2 separate regions of the Homo sapiens genome follow, and region 1 is linked to region 2. The links are contacts of gene promoters, found by promoter capture Hi-C in human tissues and cell types (Jung and others, 2019). All regions are on one chromosome and are shown on one strand. The core of a region is centred on a gene start or on the middle of the fragment in contact, and the rest is flanking DNA. Distances in the headings are between cores, read along the strand shown. Region 1 overlaps ALKBH5 (alkB homolog 5, RNA demethylase). Region 2 holds the start of TVP23B (trans-golgi network vesicle protein 23 homolog B).

Evidence for each region. Contacts are between HindIII fragments. The study calls those that stand out against the background at their distance.
Region 1: a contact is called between a fragment that was not itself captured here and the fragment with the promoter of TVP23B in region 2, in 1 of the 25 tissues and cell types used here (hippocampus).

The regions. Positions count from the first base shown.
Region 1 is chr17:18,189,801-18,196,401 of GRCh38, forward strand. It overlaps ALKBH5 (alkB homolog 5, RNA demethylase), which reads left to right. Exons shown (of 4, transcript NM_017758.4): 2 at 5,155-5,235. Among named protein-coding and RNA genes, the nearest start is that of ALKBH5, 9.3 kb to the left of the region's middle. The HindIII fragment of the contact is 6,402 bases long and covers 1-4,807 here.
Region 2 is chr17:18,776,662-18,782,524 of GRCh38, forward strand. TVP23B (trans-golgi network vesicle protein 23 homolog B) reads left to right here and starts at 4,522. Exons shown (of 7, transcript NM_016078.6): 1 at 4,522-4,644. The coding sequence starts at 4,633. It overlaps FBXW10 (F-box and WD repeat domain containing 10), which reads left to right. Exons shown (of 14, transcript NM_001267585.2): 14 at 1,814-2,688. The coding sequence ends at 2,637. The HindIII fragment of the contact is 28,552 bases long and covers 1-5,863 here.

The DNA.
Region 1 (6,601 bases), core at 357-2,856, 590 kb before region 2:
GTGTCTCAGGAGATGGGCTACCTTCTGTGTTTAGTACTGTCTATCTTGGTGTGTACAGAATTGGGACTTGGCAGGTTGACCTTCCCTCTGGATTCAGAAAGCCCCAGGACTTCTTATAAAGTTAGGCCATGGGTCGTCTTGGAGGCTTGGGTCTGGTAAATAATTGAGCCTGAGCTCACAATCCTGCCCCTGGGTCCAGGTGGCTGGTCTGCTGCCCCCAAAAGCCTGACCTTCTTGGTCCTGTGGGTCTGTCAGTAAGGCAGGTAGCCATAGCTGGAGAGAGACAGTCACCAGGCTGGGATCTTGGACAGTCCCTCCATCTCTGGTTCATCCTGGCCTAGGCAGGGCATGGAGTAGATGGAAAATGGTGGCCATCTTGGAAATGTGTCATAACAACTCAGTTTCCAAGACCGTCCCCTAGAGGAGAGATGTACAGTCCTGCATAGTTTCTTTAAAGAATTTTTCAGGGCCAGGTGCGGTGGCTCATGCCTGTAATCCCAGCACTTTGGGAGGCCAGGGCGGGTGGATCACCTGAGGTCAGGAATTCAAGACAAGAATGGCCAAGATGGTGAAAGCCCGTCTCTACTAAAAATACAAAAATTAGCCGGGCGTGGTGGCAGGCACCTGTAATCCCAGCTACTCGGGAGGCTGAGGCAGAGAATTGCTTGAACCCAGGAGCTAGAGGTTGCAGTGAGCCAAGATTGCGCCACTGCATTCCAGCCTAGGCAACAGAGTGGGACTCTGTTTCCGAAAAAAAAAAAAAAAAAAAAAATTTCAGACACCTCATTTAATTTGCACCTAATCTTCTGAGGAGGGGCTTGCTGTGATCTTTGTTTTGCAGAGGCAGAAACAGGTTCTAAGTGGTAGAATAGTTCAGCTCAACACACATTTCATTTAGTGTCCACTGTGCAGGGATGAGTAAGGCCTTTGAAGAGCTTTGTCTTGAAGGGAAGACACAATTTCCACAAGGCCAGATGGAATAGCAAAGAGGCATGAGAGGGTGTGGTTGAGCAATGTAGGGGGAACCCAGCCTGGGCAGTCAGGGAAAGGCCCCCAAAAGAGGAGATAGACATGTCAGCTCCTTCGAGAGTCACTCTGAGGTATAGGACTAGTGGGTGACATTTGCAACATATACTGGTCAGTGCCTCTGGGGCTGGGGCTGGGGGCTCAGCCCAGAGAGGGAGCAGGCAAGCCAGATGGCATAAGGTTATTTCCTCTTCTCCTTTCCCTGTGAAAACAAAAAAGCAGGAGGTCCTGGAACTTTTCATGCCAGCAGTAGGGCTGGACCCAAGGGCATATTAAGTTGCAAGCTGGCCGACTGAGACTTTCAGACAATTTATTTTGTAGCAAGTAGGTTCCTTAATAGTAAATAATACCCTGTGGTCTCTGCTCGACATTTTGTGAGATTGGCCAGGAGAGCTTCCCTTAATCAGGACTTTGAGCTCATGTTGCCAGAGCAGCCGGATATTCTGAGGAAAGGGTCAGTGGGCTGTGTCATAGCTGCTAGGAAGTTCTAGAAGACCAGTACTAATAAGCCTTCCAGGTTGGGTCAGTGCCAAAGTCATTTTTGTGGGCCTGTGCAGCCCTACCTCCATACTAGTTCTTCCAAGGCCTGGGCTCCGTGGCAGGAACCTGACATGGCTTATTGTTTGTTCTAGAGCCCTTTGGGGGATGGGGTCAGGGAGCATGCGGGCAGTCAAGCTTTGACAAACATCTGGATTTGCTCCAGAACTGCATTAAGAAAAGTGGTTCCTTGTTGGAGATGGGAAGTCAGGGCCCTTGGTTATGCATATAGCCAAGTCAAACAGATTGATAACACTTGTCAATGGCAGGGAAGGTTGCCTGTAGCCAGCACTGCAGATTCAGGACTTAGAAACGTGCCTCTGGGGCCGAGCATGGTGGCTCACACTTGTAATCCCAGCACTTTGGGAGGCCGAGGTGGGTGGATCACGTGTGATCAGGAGATCGAGACCAGCCTGGCCAACATGGGGAAACAGTCTTCACTAAACATACAAAAATTAGCCTGTAGTCCCAGTTACTTGGGGGTCTGAGGCAGGAGAATTGCTTGAACCTGGGACGTGGAGGTTACAGTGAGCCAAGATCATGCCACTGCACTCCAGCCTGGGCAACAGAGTGAGACTCTGTCTTTAAAAAAAAAAAAAAGTGCCTTTGAGACCTTTGACAGCTCTTTGGGAAAGTATTGTGTGTCTATATGGGACAGTCTTGCAGTCTAGACCCCCATTCCCCCAGTGTGGAATGATAAAAGCATGGGATGAGAACTAGAGTTCCTAGCTCTGGAAATGGGGCCCAGGCGGCCCCCACTACTGGCAGATCCCTGCAGGGGGAGCCCAGACCATGTCTCTTTGGCAGATGCTGAATCCAGGGCTCTGGCTTGCCCCAGGATAGTCCAGGGCCCTCTGACTTTTGTCAGAGTGCTTAGTAAAGATTGTAGGGTGTCAGGCACCCTGCATTATCTGACTTAATTCTCGCAATACCCCTGCAGGTAGGCCTCTCACCACCCCTTTCCAGGAGTGTCAACCAAGTAGTCATATAATGCTGTTTTTCTGCCTGGAAGGGAGGAGGCCCCGTTTTTAAAATCTTGTAATCTTAAAAACTTTAATCTTGTAATCTTTAAAACTGTCCCCATTTTTAAAATCTTGTAATATTAGTAGCAGCAAAAGAATAGCTAAATTATAAAGCATAACAAAATGAATACCCAAGAACCTACTGTTCTCCTTATTACAGATGAAGAAACTGTACAGGTTTTTAGGTTCAGCATGTGATTTAACAAAGGTCACAAAGCTAGTAGGAGACAAAGCTCACATTTGAACCCAGGTCTCTTCAACTCACTAACTCCTGTGTGGTACTTCTCACTGTGGGCTGATGGGTATTAATAGGTATTATGAGAGAAGGTTCTTTGGTAAGTGCTCAAAGTCAGTGGGTTCTTTTGCTGTAGTAATTCTCATGTGCTTTAAATATATTAATGCTTTTTGAAACTCTAATCAGTATTTTACAAATTGATTTCACTGTAGACATTCGTCCACTGTCTTTTTCTTTTTTTTTTTTTTTTTTTTTTTGAGACGGAGTCTCACTCTGTCACCCAGGCTGGAGTGCAGTGGCACTATCTCGGCTCACGGCAACCTCCACCTCCCAGGTTCAGCGATTCTCCTGCCTCAGCCTCTGCGATAGCTGGAATTACAGGCACCTGCCATCATGCCTGGCTTATTTTTGTATTTTTGTAGAGACGGGGTTTCACCATGTCGGCCAGACTGGTTACGAACTCCTAACCTCAGGCAACATGCCCACCTTGGCCTCCCAAAGTGCTGGGTGGGATTACAGGCGTGAGCCACCGTGCCTAGCCTGTCTACTGTCTCTTATGGGACTGGTGTTCATGGAGAAAATTTTGAAAAATTCTTGTCTAGGAGCAGCTTGAGGGAGAAGGTGGATCTATAAAATAAAGGTTTGGGCCGGGCGCGGTGGCTCACACCTGTAATCCCAGCACTTTGGGAGGCCGAGGCTGGCGGATCACGAGGTCAGGAGTTCAAGACCATCCTGACCAACATAGTGAAACCCCATCTCTACTGAAAATAACAAAAATTAGACAGGCGTGGTGGGGTGCGCCTGTAGTCCCAGCTACTTGGGAGGCTGAGGCAGGAGAATCGCTTGAACCCGGTAGGCAGAGGTTGCAGTGAGCCGAGATTGTGCCACTGCACTCCAACCTGGGTGACAGAGTGAGACTGTCTCAAAAAAAAAAAAAATTAAATAAAATAAAGGTTTGTTCTATCCCCAGCATGAGCTCAAATCAGATTTCCAAATCAGAGGTGCTTCCTTAAGGCTGAGCCTGAAGCAGTCTGGCTTTTTATCTCTTGTTGGCTCTTGCATCCAGTTATTAGAGCTGAGGTTTGGCCAGCCTGGCCATCTTGAGGGGTCCTTCCCAGGCCTGCAGTGTTTTTAATAGTTAAGTTTGTGTCTGTACAACTAGCCTTTGAGAAGGGAGCTGATCAGCAGCCATGAGAGAAGGGTTTGTGGTACAGGGCCAGGTAGGGAAACTAAGCCATACTTGTCCTACTAGGCTTGTGGCTGAGTTTCTGGGTGTGTAGAACTGCTGCAGCTCAGTAGAGTAACTTGGAGTGGGAGTATCTTGTGGCTGCCATGCTTCCAGTGATAGCATGTGAGGGGTATAGGAAGCTCAGAGCTTGCTTCCAGAGTTTCAAATTGGAATGACGCTAGCTGAGAAGAGGACAGTCATCTACCCACATTAGTTGGTCTCTGAGCGGTTTTAAAAGTCATGTAACTTGTTGAAAATAAACAGATATCTGAGTATGATGGAAATCCTTTTTTTTTGGGCGGGGGGCAGGGGGTGGGGGTCAGTGGTGGGGACAGAGTCTCGCTCTGTTGCCCAGGTGCAGTGGGCGTGATCTTGGCTCACTGCAACTTCTGCCTCCTAGGTTCAAGCGATTCTCCTGCCTCAGCCTCCCAAGTAGCTGGGATTACAGGCGCCCACCACCATGCCTGGCTAATTTTTGTATTTTTAGTAGAGATGGGGTTTCGCCATGTTGGCCAGGCTGGTCTCGAACTCCTGATTTCAGGTGATCCGCCCACCTCGGCCTCCCAAAGTGCTAGGATTACAGGCATGAGCCATCACGCCCAGCCGGAAATTCTTAAAATATTCAAACACAACTGTCTTCAAAATTTTGGATCCCCCCAAATGGAGACTTCATGTAGATATTCTATTTTGGAATGAGGCAGTCCTAGCTCTCCCTGGTGACTCAGTGCTATCAGTGGCTGCCTTGGCTTTCTCTACCTGCTAAATGGAGGGAGAATGAGGAGGAGCTACAGTGTACTCTCTGGAGTACCCTTTTAAAAAAGGGTTCCTGGCCTGTTCAGGGAGAGTCTTGCTTCCAGCCTCTGCCTTAAGTGGCCAAGGGGTCTCCTTTGTGTCATACCAGGTTTTTCCTTGAGTATTACAGTCTCTTGGCAAAAGCATCCTGGAACTTAATATGATATTCCCTTCCATGTAGATCCTTGAAACTCTCAAGTAATGGGTAGAGAGCAGCCGTAAGACCTAGGCCATGTTCCTGTCCTGTTATATCCCCCAGGAACTTTGGTTGTCTGTCTACTCTTCATGGTCACATGTTCTGTGTTTCTTTTCAGTGGATATGCTGCTGATGAAATCACTCACTGCATACGGCCTCAGGACATCAAGGAGCGCCGAGCAGTCATCATCCTCAGGAAGTAAGTGCCTTGATGTCTGACCTTCTGCCTCACCTGCAGGCCTGTCTGGAGATGTAGCTCTGGGTCCACTTAGAACTCAGCTCCTATGTATCAGTGGCATGGCAGAGTGGAGAGCAGAACTGTTAAGTTCTCTTTTTATTTGAATCCTGTGAGGATAAAGTTGTTTTGTTGTTTTATCAGAAAATTAAGTACTCTATTTAGGGAGTTTAGGACTGAGCAAAAGCATATACGCCCAATATTTGTGGGTATAATCTTGAGACAAGATTTGGGCAACATTCTTCCAAACCTCACCCCACCCCTTAGCCTCTATTCCTCACCTCCTTCGTTCTTATTTGTTACACGTACTCTTGGTGATTATTTTTAGACTGTGCCTTTAGCAGCCTGCTTTAAAAATGCCTGGGTTTTCACTGCTGGAAGGAACAGGGAGTGAAGAGAGGAGACAAGGGTGGGAGGTTAGGATGTAGTATTCGGCAGAATCATGGCTTGTGGCTCTTCTCTGGGGAGGGAATCAGGGATGTGCTACTTAACATCAACAAACCTGGCTTCACCAGCATTTATTTCTTTCACGGGGTGAGTGGAAGAAGCCATAGCCTCACAGACATTGGATCAAGACAAGCCTTGCCCCACTGTCCACCCATCTTGCTCAGGCTGGAATGCAGTGGTGCCATCATAGCTCACTGCATCCTCAAAGTCCTGGACTCAAGCTCTCTTCCTGCTTCAGCCTCCCCAGTAGCTGGGAATAGAGGCAAGTGCCACCATACCTGGTTCACGCCTACCTTTTGAATAGAGTCCCAGAGAAGATAGGTGATTGCCCAGAGTCATAGAAGTCAGTGAGCAGAGCAAAACAAGCACGTAAACTTAGGCTTGACCCATAAAACTTGCTGTCTGTCGTCTTCTTCCTTCCTTCCTTTTATTAAACTTTATTTTTTAGAATAGTTTTAGATTTACAGACAATTGTGATAGTACAGAGTTCTCATGTACTCTGCATCCCATTTCTCCTATTTGTTAATTTTTTATTGGTATGACTAAAGTCCATACTTTATTTAGATTTCCTTAGGTTTTTCCTAATGTCCTTTTTCTGTCCCAAGATCATCCTACGTTACATTTAGTTGACATATCAACTCAGACTCCTCTTAGACTCCTCTTGGCTGTAACAGTTTCTCAGACTTTGCCTTATTCTTTTTTTTTTTTTTTTGAGACAGGGTCTCACTCTGTCGCCTAGGCTGGAATAGGCGGGAATGCAGTGGCACCATCTCGGCTCACTGCAACCTCTGCGTCCCAGGTTCAAGTGATTTCGTGTCTCAGCCTCCTGAGTAGCTGGGACTATAGGCGTGTGCCACAACACCCAGCTAACTTTATTTTTTCG
Region 2 (5,863 bases), core at 3,272-5,771:
ACTGTATCAATTTACACTCCTACTTGCAATATATGAGAGACCCCACTGCATTTGTGCCAACTCTGGGTGTTAGCTGGCATTTTGTAGTTGCTTGTATAAGTAAAAATGGGGTCCGCATTTTCTTCTAGGTTGACCATTAACAAACTAAATGTCCATCAATGGGCAATGGCTAAGTAATAAAAAAATCTATTGTATGGAATATTATATACAGCTAAAAATTGTATGATGAGGATCTGTATATACTAACTTGGAAAGAGATCCACAATACATTATCATTTGAAAAAAGACAAATTAATAAACAATGAGCTCATCACAATTCCTTTTTTTATAAAAGGAGAAAAATTCTCTTTTTGAGTTTGCAAGGAGAATAGGGAAGATTTTGACATCTTGATTTCACTCAGTTTTTTTTTTTTTTTTTGAGATGGAGTCTCACTCTGTTGCCCAGGCTGGAGTGCAGTGGCGTGATCTCGGCTCACCGCAACCTCTGCCTCCTGAGTTCAAGCGATTCTCCTGCCTCAGCCTCCTCAGTAGCTAGGATTACAGGCGCCTGCCACCACGCCCGGCTAATTTTTTTGTATTTTTAGTACAGACGGGTTTTCTCCATGTTGGTCAGGCTGGTCTCGAACTCCCGACCTCAGGTGATCTACCCACCTAGGCCTCCCAAAGTGCTGGGATTACAGGCATGAGCCACCGCACCCAGCCTGAAGACAGGTTTTATTTTGGGCAACATTCAAGATTACTTGGAGTCAAATTTGATTAATAAGGTAAAGATCAAATTTTGCAACATAATTACTGTTGAAAAATAGTTATGCTACTATAAATTTATAAGATCTGCTTTGTGTGAATCATAAATGAGATGTGAAGGTCATTCCCAACTTCACATTTTCTTTTTTTTTTTTTGAGACTGAGTCTTGCTCTGTCGCCCAGGCTGGAGTGCAGTGGCGCGATCTTGGCTTACTGCAAGCTCTGCCTCCTGGGTTCATGCCATTCTCCTGCCTCAGCCTCCCGAGTAGCTGGGACTACAGGCGCCCGCCGCCATGCCGGGCTAATTTTTTGTATTTTTAGTAGAGACGGGGTTTCACCGTGTTAGCCAGGATGGTCTGGATCTCCTGACCTCGTGATCCACCCTCCTGGGTCTCCCAAAGTGTGGGGATTACAGGCGTGAGCCACCGCGCCCGGCCTCAACTTCACATTTTCAAAAATATGTGTAGCATTGAAATCACATCTGTTGCATTCAAAATATGCTCACTTAGAGGCTAATATACTCTTTACTCAATACTAGCATTTTATTAAAAACTTGTTTTATTGGCCGGCTGCGGTGGCTCATGCCTGTAATCCCAGCACTTTGGGAGGCCGAGGCGGGTGGATCACGAGGTCAGGAGATCGAGGCCATCCTGGCTAACACGGTGAAACCCTGTCTCTACTAAAAAAAATACAAAAAATTAGCCAGGCATGGTGGCGGACGCCTGTAGTCTCAGCTACTTGGGAGGCTGAGGCAGGAGAACGGCGTGAACCCGGAAGGCAGAGCTTGCAGTGAGCAGAGATCATGCCACTGCACTCCAGCCTGGGTGACAGAGCGAGACTCCGTCTCAAAAACAAAAACAAACAAACAAAAAAATTTGTTTTATTAAATTGTTTCTAGTATCAGCATTTCTAATACCACTCAGGGTGCCTGCCTGTATGATGGCATACCTGTTGGGCAACAAAGACCTCAATGTGCTTCGAAGTTTGAATGCCCAAGTACTTAATGCATACGTACTTAATATTTTTCATAGAACGCCGATTTTTTAAAATTTTCTTTTTTTTGAAAAAGCAGATGATGTGGAGAAAGCACAAAAACAAGGACAATTGGAAACTCCTGGAAAACTGCCCAGTCACCCAAAGAAAAAGTCTTGGAAAATCCCTATGTCACCTGACCAATTCCTCCTGACTGTTAGCGCCCTGCAGCACGCCCATAATTCCGGGGAATTTGCCTATCCCTGTAGGCCCCAAACAGAAATTACTGATGTCTGGGGACCTTCAATTTCATACCCAAGGAAGGTCTTGAATTTCAAAGGAAAATCAATCCAACGTGCAGTTGATCGGTTGAGATTGAGCAATCCTCCTATAGATGTGAAACGAACCAGTATTCCCCTTGAAATCCAGAAACTGCAGCCCAACTTGAAGATCTCTTTGCACAGTCCTAGAGTCCAGTCCACCATACCCCAGCCCATGATTATCCGCTCCAGGTTCTCTGGCAGCTTAAAGGGTGGAGACCAAGTGACCAGTTCAATTGAAAGGGCTGTGTGCAGTACGGGTCCCCTGACCAGTATGCAGGTCATTAAACCAAACCGCATGCTAGCTCCACAAGTGGGCACAGCCACCCTGTCTCTTAAGAAAGAACGGCCTCGCATCTATACAGCCCTTGATCCTTTTAGAGTGAACACTGAGTTCGTGCTGTTGACCGTGAAGGAGGAGAAGGAGCACCAGGAAGCCAAGATGAAGGAATATCAGGCCAGGGAGTCCACTGGAGTGGTTGATCCAGGAAAAGTCAGCAAAGCTGCATGGATCAGGAAGATCAAAGGCCTGCCTATTGATAATTTCACGAAGCAAGGGAAAACAGCGGCCCCTGAACTTGGACAAAATGTATTTATCTAAACCAGCCTTGGGAAATTACAATGTTTTACAATAAACAGAAAGCCAAGCGGATGTTGCTATTTGGCCTTTTTTTTTTTTTTTTTGACTGTTTCTTCCTGGTAATTAATGTGGGAACTCCCAGTTATCTTCCTCTGAGCCAAATATTTGATATCATCAAAATAAGAAAACAGAAGGAGGTTGGGCGAGATTAGCATCTGTAGTCCCACTGAAAACAATTTAGTGAGCATTAGGAAAGCCCAGTTTCGTTGATGGGGGATGGGGAGATGATCACTGGAAATTAGATACCATTCATCACTACCAATTTAGTGCTATTAGTTCTTCTGGCAAATGAAGTTATGGGATTATATCAGGGTCATGCATTGGTGTTTTCTGGTATTTTTGCACAGAAGCCTGATAAAACCCATTAAGAATTTAAAAGGGGAAGCCCTCAGTGGGGTGGACCTGTTGCATTTGACAACATTGAGCTTTTCCTTCTCAGGGCTAACTCCTAAGGAAGAGAATTAGCATATTTATCCTCTGTACAAAGAGGGCCAGTAACATCAAGTGCATTGAGGTTTCTGCTTAAACCTTTGGACTATGGTGCAGGGACCAGGTAATTTAGAAGAGTGCAGCCCACTACAAGAGCTATGGCCCATTAGAAAGTTCAAGCCTTGACCAGGTGCGGTGGCTCACGCCTGTAGTCCCAGCACTTTGGGAGACTGAGGCGGGTGGCTCACCTGAGATCAGGAGTTTGATACCAGCCTGACCATCGTGGTGAAACCTCGTTTCTACTAAAAATACAAAATTAGCTTTAAAAATTAGCTATTAAAAATTAAAAGACGATAATGAATTCAAACACAATGTCTTAAAAAACCAAAAACTACGAAAAACAACACAAAACTCCACAGCACTGAGTGGACCACTGAAAACCTGCCATGGGCAGGCTGGACGTACAGGCCCCAAATTTGTTAGCTTTTCATCTCCAAGGGCACGAATGCAATTGTGCTGCCGAAATGTCTTGCCTTTAGAAACGCGTGTGTGTGTTTTCCCCCTTTCATTATTAGAATATCAGGTTTTAAATGGCACTGGCAATCAGCCACGTAAAATTTGTGATTTTAATAGAATCCCTTCAATTAAGGACACGTGCAAATACCACTATGCCAACAGCAGTCTGACTCGGCCAGACAGATAGGATATTGTCATCATCACCGCTTCAAAGATGACTTAACGCCCCTTAATTTCACATCCTTTGTTCAGGCAAGATCACAGCATGAGCGGCTGGACTTAAAACTGTAGTAAGTATAACGTCTCCCATTTACTAGATACTTACACTGTAAGGAAACCATTATCACCCCCACTTTACAACTGATGAAAGAAGTACATAAAGGTTGGTGATATGATTGGCAATAGAGTTCCCAGGCGCCTAAGCTCCAGGGCGCAAGGTCTCAACTCCTGGCGTCTAAGTTTATACCTCCCATAATAATACCGTCCATTAGTTACTCTAGAGTCCTCCTGCCTTGTTTTTCTTAACGTTTTACTTCTCTGCAAGAACATATTTTAAAAAGTTGCTTCTACAATTTAAAGTACAAAAGTAATACTGTACAGGAGTAAGTCTTTGTAAAATATTTAAAGAAAATTATATTATACAATAAAACCCCGCCCCCCTGCATTCGGGGCAGCGACACTGGGGGAACGACTTTAGAATTTGCATTGGGTGGACAGCAAATACTTCCGTAAAACAGACCATGAAGCTTTCCACTTAGAGCCCACTGTGGCCCCAATACCTTTCCCTTTCGCTCCTGCTCCAGGCTCCGCCTCCGCCGTGTCCGGGCCGCTCGCCCCGCCCCCGCTCGCCCCGCCCCTGGATTTGCTCCCTCAAAGCGGAAGTGAGGCCGGACTGAGGCTCTTACAGTGGTCCCTGCTGGCCCTTGGTGACGGGTCGCCTCAGTTCCGACCCGGACCCGTACGCTGCTGCGCTGACGTGGCTCCCGGAAGTAGGGCTGGCGTAGGGCCGCCATGTTGCAGCAGGTGAGGGGCTGAGGGCTCGCTGGGAGGGTGGCGGCTCCTGGGACTGGCTCTGCAGGTTCCGTGGGACTGGAGCCCGCGTCCCCCGCGCCCGCTACTCGAACTCGAGGAGGAGCGGGGCGGCCGGGAGTGGAGGGCTGTGGGTAGTTGTCTGAGGAGGGCTGCTGGGGGTTCTGAGGCCGCTGGGGGCGGCGTGACCCGTGCGGCGCAGAGCAAGTACTTCTTGCGGCTGTGGGGACGCCCATTGTTAACCAGCGCGAGTGGGGGTCTCTCTTTCCTCAACCCTTATTGCCGGGGTGGAGTTGAGGAGGAGCGGCCTGCGGGCCTCTTAGCTTCCTGACACCCAGGGGTGCGATGCTATTTTGTAGGAATCGGCGACACCGCCAGAGCCTCGCTTTCAAATTGCTGTTTCCAAACTAATGTTGTTGGTGATTCTCTCCTTTGTGCTCTTAGAGTTAATTGTAGTCCACATGTTGGCAACCAGAGACTCGTAAGATTAATAATATTTTTAGAAAAAACTACTGTTTATGGTCACTTAGATTGTCTTAAGTGTTTTTTTCTTTCGGTTCACACAAAATTTGTTGAGGGATTACTATGACTCAGACACGGTTGTAGGCCCAGGGATAGGGTTGTGACCAGTACAGACAGGTTTCTTGCCCCGTATTTTTGGGTTAGGGAAGTGGGTTCTAGGAGATGGGGGTTGGGTGGGGAGACACGATAAATTGTATAACCAAAGATATTTTCAGATAATTGCAAAGGCAGGGTGATGAAATAACAAGTGTCTGAGGATAGGACAACTAAGATTTATGGTCAGGAAAGACTGCTTATGAGGAGATGCCTTGAGTGGAGAAAATCTAATAATGGTTAAATTCAGCTGTATTACAGGAAAGGTGTCCCGATCCAGACCCGAAAAGAGGGTCCTTGGCCGGGCGTGGTGACTCAGGCCTGTAATCCCAGCACTTTGGGAGGACGAGGTGGGTGGATCATGAGGTCAAGAGATCGAGACCATCCTGGCCAACTTGGTGAAACCCTGTCTCTACTAAAAATACAAAAATTAGTTGGGCGTGATGGTGCACGCCTGTAGTCCCAGCTACTCGGGAGGCTGAGGCAGGAGAATCGCTTGAACTGGGGAGGCTGAGGTTGCAGTGAGCCGCGGGCCACTGCACTCCATCCAGCCTGGCTACAGAGGGAGACTCCGTCTCAAACAAAACAAAAAAAGTCT